Regions from separate parts of the Homo sapiens genome. Here region 2 is linked to region 1. Evidence: promoter capture Hi-C in 16 types of primary human blood cells and fetal thymus (Javierre and others, 2016). All regions are on one chromosome and are shown on one strand. Each heading gives the region's core, a stretch centred on a gene start or on the middle of the fragment in contact. The rest is flanking DNA. Distances are from core to core; before and after follow the strand shown. Region 1 holds the start of HAND2 (heart and neural crest derivatives expressed 2). Region 2 overlaps GALNTL6 (polypeptide N-acetylgalactosaminyltransferase like 6).

Region 1 (2,940 bases), core at 199-2,698:
CCCGCCTCCAAAGGGCGATGCTCAAGGTGGAGTCTTTGGTCTCCCTTGGGCTAACCTGGCCTGACCAGCGGCGAGCCCCAGGCCGCCCTGTCCCGCGCTGGCGCCGCAGGCCCTCGCCTCCCTCTAATTTACAGCCCGCGGGCTCCTGTTGACACCGTTTTCCACACCGAACTCCTTCGGGTGGAATCTGCATATACACATCAGCCTCCCCTCTCGGCTTGGGGCCAAGCCTGGGGTGATTTCAGCTCCTGCCATTTACCACCCGCCCTCGCCGCACGTGAGCCTTCTCAAGAAGCTCATGCCACACGGGCGCTGCGGCCCGGGTGCCCCGCGGCCCGGTGACTTACAAGTGGAGATCCATTTTCCGTTATAATGCGTTCAAGATCACCAAGGCCAGCAGTCTCAACATCCACGAGCCGTCCTCCCGGCCTGCCTCTTAAACTGGCGTTTAATGGTTCCCCTCCGATAACTAAACCTGCTTTCCACAGATGCCCGCTTTTATGAGGGAGGCAGGAATGCAGAGATATATTTATATGTTTGTTCATAAAAACTGGAAAATAAGCTCTGAACACGCCGTAAAAAATATTCAGTTACTTACCAAACAGGCTAGTTAAACCAGGGGAACACCGATACCAGCCACACTACAGATTCGGGGAATCGAGGTGCCCGCACTTCAAAATCGCCCAAGGTCTTCGTAGGGACTGGTGTCCCTGAAGGATGTGGAAATAACAGCATTTACAATCGGCTTGACATGTTCGCCCGGAGGACTCAGCCGTCATCTCCAAAGTTTGCCGCAATAACGTGAGCCACCCCAAACAGCTCTAACCGGGGTAACTTGGTGGGTAACTCAATAGCCACTGAGACCGGCGTTTCGAGCCTGTAAACGGGTCAAAGAAACACCCTTCTCCAGCCGCTCCTCGTCCCTGCTGGGGCAAAGAGCGCCAGCTCCCAGCCGCGCCTTTGTGGGGGCCCCCACCGCCCGTCACGAGGCTCCCGGCGCCCCTGCATAAAATTGTAAGAGGCTGCCTGCGTATATTTTCTTACCTCGATTACCTACAAAGCACTTCGAAAAGCAATACCTGCGTTTTCTTTCTTTCTTTCTTTTCAACCAGAAAAGAGAGCAGAGTGATACTGTACCTGGTTAGAGATTCTTCAATATTTGAGACTTGGGGGGAAAATATTTTAATAGTGAAGCATCTGTTAAACACTTGCATTATCCTCTGACTGATAAAAAAAGTTTTTTTAACCCTGCCCCCCCCCCCCGCCAAGTTTTAATTATCTTATGGTTATGAGGAGGTAGCCAATCCTGGAAGAGGACCTCGGCAATTAGCAACGTGAACATCAAAAAGTTTTATTGCCGAGAGCTCGAGGCGCCGCCCCTGCCGCCCCGGGATTGGCGTGAGGAGCCTCTGACGACATATATTAACCCGAGCGGCCCTAAAGATGTAGCTGTACATGGAGATCTTGCTGGGAAAATCCGCTTGCTCCCCTCACGTCGTCCAGCCCAGGAGAACCACCGCCGTCACCCCGGAGCTTCCTCGGCCACCGCGCAGAGCCCTCCGAGAGCCCGAGCCGCGGTCTTCGAGCTCCAAGGCTCATTCAGGGCCCCAGATCCTTGCCCCGAAAGGAGAGGATCTGAGAAAATGGATGCACTGAGACCTCTCTGAAAACCCTCCGAGAGAGCGCGAGAGGAGCGAGGACACGTTACTCGCAGCTAAAATCACATTTAAGGACCAAAACAACAACAACCAAAAATTTCATTAAAACAATAAGCGCCCAAGAACCCAGATCGGGCTGGTGGGGGGAGGGGAAGAGGCGGGAAGGGGAGGGTCGCACGGAGGTAGCTTTGCAGTGAGCAGTCGACCCCGCCGCCCCCCGGCACAGCTGGACCGGCTCCTCCAGCCGCGGCTCAGACTCGCCCCTGGATTCCGGGTTAGCTTCGGTGCCAGGACCGCGGCCCGGGCTTGGATTCCCGAGACTCCGCGTACCAGCCTCGCGGGAGCCCCGGCACCTTTGTATGAGCACGAGAGGATTCTGCCTCCGCGCAGCAGCCCGGGAAGCAGGAGCCGAAGCGCGGGCCGTGGAGCAAGGCGGGAACCGGAGGCGGCGGCGGCGGCGGCCAGGGGCGCACGGTGCCAGGACCAGCTCGCCGCGCCCCATGGGGAGCCGGCGGCCGCAGCGCTGCTGAGGCGGGCCCGGCTGGCCAGGCGGGGGGACGGGGCCCGGGCTGCAGCAGCCCCCTCTGCGGCTGCCGGGCGGGCCCGGGCGCCCGGGGGCTGGGGGGTGGGGGGTGGGGGAGGACGCCGAGCGCTGAGGCAGGGGCCCGGGCCGAGGGCGCGGCGGGGCTGCGCGCACGCTGGGGCGCGTGGAGGGGCGCGGAGGGCGAAATGAGTCTGGTAGGTGGTTTTCCCCACCACCCGGTGGTGCACCACGAGGGCTACCCGTTTGCCGCCGCCGCCGCCGCAGCTGCCGCCGCCGCCGCCAGCCGCTGCAGCCATGAGGAGAACCCCTACTTCCATGGCTGGCTCATCGGCCACCCCGAGATGTCGCCCCCCGACTACAGCATGGCCCTGTCCTACAGCCCCGAGTATGCCAGCGGCGCCGCCGGCCTGGACCACTCCCATTACGGGGGGGTGCCGCCGGGCGCCGGGCCCCCGGGCCTGGGGGGGCCGCGCCCGGTGAAGCGCCGAGGCACCGCCAACCGCAAGGAGCGGCGCAGGACTCAGAGCATCAACAGCGCCTTCGCCGAACTGCGCGAGTGCATCCCCAACGTACCCGCCGACACCAAACTCTCCAAAATCAAGACCCTGCGCCTGGCCACCAGCTACATCGCCTACCTCATGGACCTGCTGGCCAAGGACGACCAGAATGGCGAGGCGGAGGCCTTCAAGGCAGAGATCAAGAAGACCGACGTGAAAGAGGAGAAGAGGAAGAAGGAGC
Region 2 (2,700 bases), core at 156-2,655, 520 kb after region 1:
GGTAACTGCCCTCATGATTAAATTACCTCCCACTGGGTCCCTCCCATGACACATGGGGATTATGCGAACTACAATTCAAGATGAGATTTGGGGACACAGCCAAACCATATCACAATGTTAACTCTTATTTCTTTGCTTTAATATTAATGTGATATGTGTCATGTTGCCTGGGTCCGTTTGTATTATATGAATAAGGTCACTGGATTTGGTACTGCCAATACACTTATCTCTTGCTCTTGCTACCTGACTTGAGACAGCAGAAAATATTTTTCTCTGTCTGGATTGTGATGTTTTATTTCATTGTTATGAGGTTTGCAGAAACCTGAGATACAGCATGTTTCTCCTTGCAGTTTGCACCCATCAGTTCGCTCTGTCTTGATAATGAGACTCTTTTTTCCCAAAGAGAGAAAAAAGAAAGGAAAAAAATCTGTCCCCTGGATGCACACATTTGCTTGCTTCTGTCTTTGTGAACCTTCCCCTAGGCCCTGGAGAGGGAGCCAGTGTTTGCTTCCTCGGGAGGACGAAAGCTGGGCTGCAACACTTGCTCCCCAGCATGACATCAGAGCCTGCTGCTGGGCCTGCAGAGTGGGAACAGCCAAACTAGACCAAGGGGGTTCCTCCCCGCCACTCCTCTCCCTTGGACTCAATGGGAGCTGGGGAATGTTCTTTCCAGACCTTATAGTCTTATTAGGATCTATTTTTGTTTTTCTTTCTTGATCCCTAAAGGAAGCATAATGCTACCATGATATCAAACAGCTATGCAGATTGCCCTGGCAAAATGAATCATACATTTGCTTCCTTCACAGAAACCACGTTAGTCACCACCAGTGTTCTGCAGCAGAAGGCATTTTCTTATACAGGTCCTTCAATGGACTCTTTTTTATTTCCCATGTAACAATTTTGTTTTTTCCTTTTTTTAATTTTTGCCACTTTTTTTTTTGGAAAAAAACGGATTATTTCAACTCTAATAAGTCTCCTTTTGTGTTTTTTGAATGTTTTTGAATTAAAAAGAAAATCCATAATTGTCATGTTCCGATATGCCTTCCTCATGCAGGAATTTTAATCTAAATGTAGAAGAGTGCTTCCTAATTCTTGTAAGTCACTGAGTGATATATTGAATAAAGCTTACAGTTAATTACTGGTGAATGAAACAGCTTGTAATGTTTTAACCTCCAAGTCAATATATGGCAATATTTCAAACATGATGCATTTTCCACCACTTATCAACCTTATTTAATCCTACTGTAGCTTCATTTTTAGGATCTCTAGAGACAGGAAATCTTTTTAAAGAGCTGTATTAACTGGTCTTTCTGTTCTGCCTATGTAGTTTTCTGCTTGTCTAGTGCTGCCCTCTGGTGACCATTTCTTGAATTACGGGCCATAGATTTTTGCATTTTAGCCTGGGGGTGGGAGGTGGGGAGTTGGGGGACGTGGGGGGTGCGGGGAGTGAACCAGCAATTTTTAAAGTGTATGCAATATCGTTGCCTTTGTTTATATCCATGTTCCGCTGTCAAATAAAATCTGCAGGCCAGAGAAGATTTCATTCTAGAGCATTACTGGATAGAAATACTAAGCCCAGTTCAGACATTAAGGCCTGCTTTATATTCACCAGCTGGCCATGTGTGTTTCTTAGTTGGGTTGAATAGAGATGGTAGAGAGGAATTTAGCCCAAGAAATGAAGCTTTTCCTTATGGTTTCCTCCTTTTTCTTTTTAAAAAAGTTCTTTTCCACTCTAGATGCCAGCCTTACCGATAGCTTCTAAAGCCTTCTCTCTTGCTCCCAGGCTGAAGTCAGAATTGCTTGTTGGAGTTAACAGTCCAACACCATTCCTCAGGTCCCCAGTAACATCCCCATGGAGCTTATAGAAACAGACAGAGGAAGGAGGAGGCAAATAACTTTTCACTGATATTTGATTCCTATCAATAAATCTGGGAGTCACAGAGCCTTCTATAAACCCCTCTGGATATATGTATATAATCAGCCACCACGCCTGGCTGATTTTTGTATTTTTAGTAGAGACGGGGTTTCAAAATGTTAGCCAGGCTGGTCTCGAACTCCTGACCTCAAGTGAGCCACCCGCCTCAGCCTCCCAAAGTGCTGGGATTATAGGCGCGAGTCACCGTGCCCAGCCATGCAGGGCGCATTTGAGTGAATAATAACTAGTATTTGCTGACTATGCTGGGAACAGATAAATGAAGCCAAAGTCCCAGCTGCCTTGGACCTGAGAGAGGTTTCTAATTTGGTATTAGCATAAAGGGATTTGTGAGTGTTTGAGAGAAGGAAGGCAGGAGGGAGAGGATATTACTCTGCACCTGCTGCATGTGCAAGATGCTGCCCCAAGATTTATTCTCCTAACCACCCTGTCCAAGATGGAAGAACTATGGCCTAGAAAGATTTCACAACTTCACAAGGCCACATGGTTTAAACTAAAATCCAGGTTGGCCTGGCTACAAGGCCCACAGTCCTCCTAGAATACCATGAGGCTGTGGGGAGAGGGTTCAAAGATTGGATCAGTGGTTAGGGGAGAGGCACTGTTGATGGACTGAACATCTCTGGATTGTATTGTGGACTTGTTCTGTGGCTGTTTTCCTCGCATCATGATGCTCTGCATTGTAATGCGTGGTAGAGGGCAGGGAGGGGCAGTGAGGTGGGGCGAGGGAGGTGAATCTCAACACATCTGGACAACTCTTTAACATCCTG

What was found. The method cuts DNA at HindIII sites, captures the fragments that hold promoters and counts their contacts. A CHiCAGO score of 5 or more calls a contact.
Region 2: a contact is called between a fragment that was not itself captured here and the fragment with the promoter of HAND2 in region 1, in 2 of 17 cell types (total CD4 T cells and total CD8 T cells). The highest score is 6.0, in total CD4 T cells.

Annotation. Positions count from the first base shown.
Region 1 is chr4:173,528,737-173,531,676 of GRCh38, reverse strand. It overlaps HAND2 (heart and neural crest derivatives expressed 2), which reads left to right and starts at 1,448. Exons shown (of 2, transcript NM_021973.3): 1 at 1,448-2,940. The coding sequence starts at 2,388. It overlaps HAND2-AS1 (HAND2 antisense RNA 1), which reads right to left and starts at 1,306. Exons shown (of 5, transcript NR_136196.1): 1 at 1,138-1,306; 2 at 599-710. The HindIII fragment of the contact is 6,850 bases long and covers 1-2,940 here.
Region 2 is chr4:173,012,287-173,014,986 of GRCh38, reverse strand. The region is part of intron 11 of GALNTL6 (polypeptide N-acetylgalactosaminyltransferase like 6); the gene reads right to left. Among named protein-coding and RNA genes, the nearest start is that of GALNT7, 160 kb to the left of the region's middle. The HindIII fragment of the contact is 557 bases long and covers 1,127-1,683 here.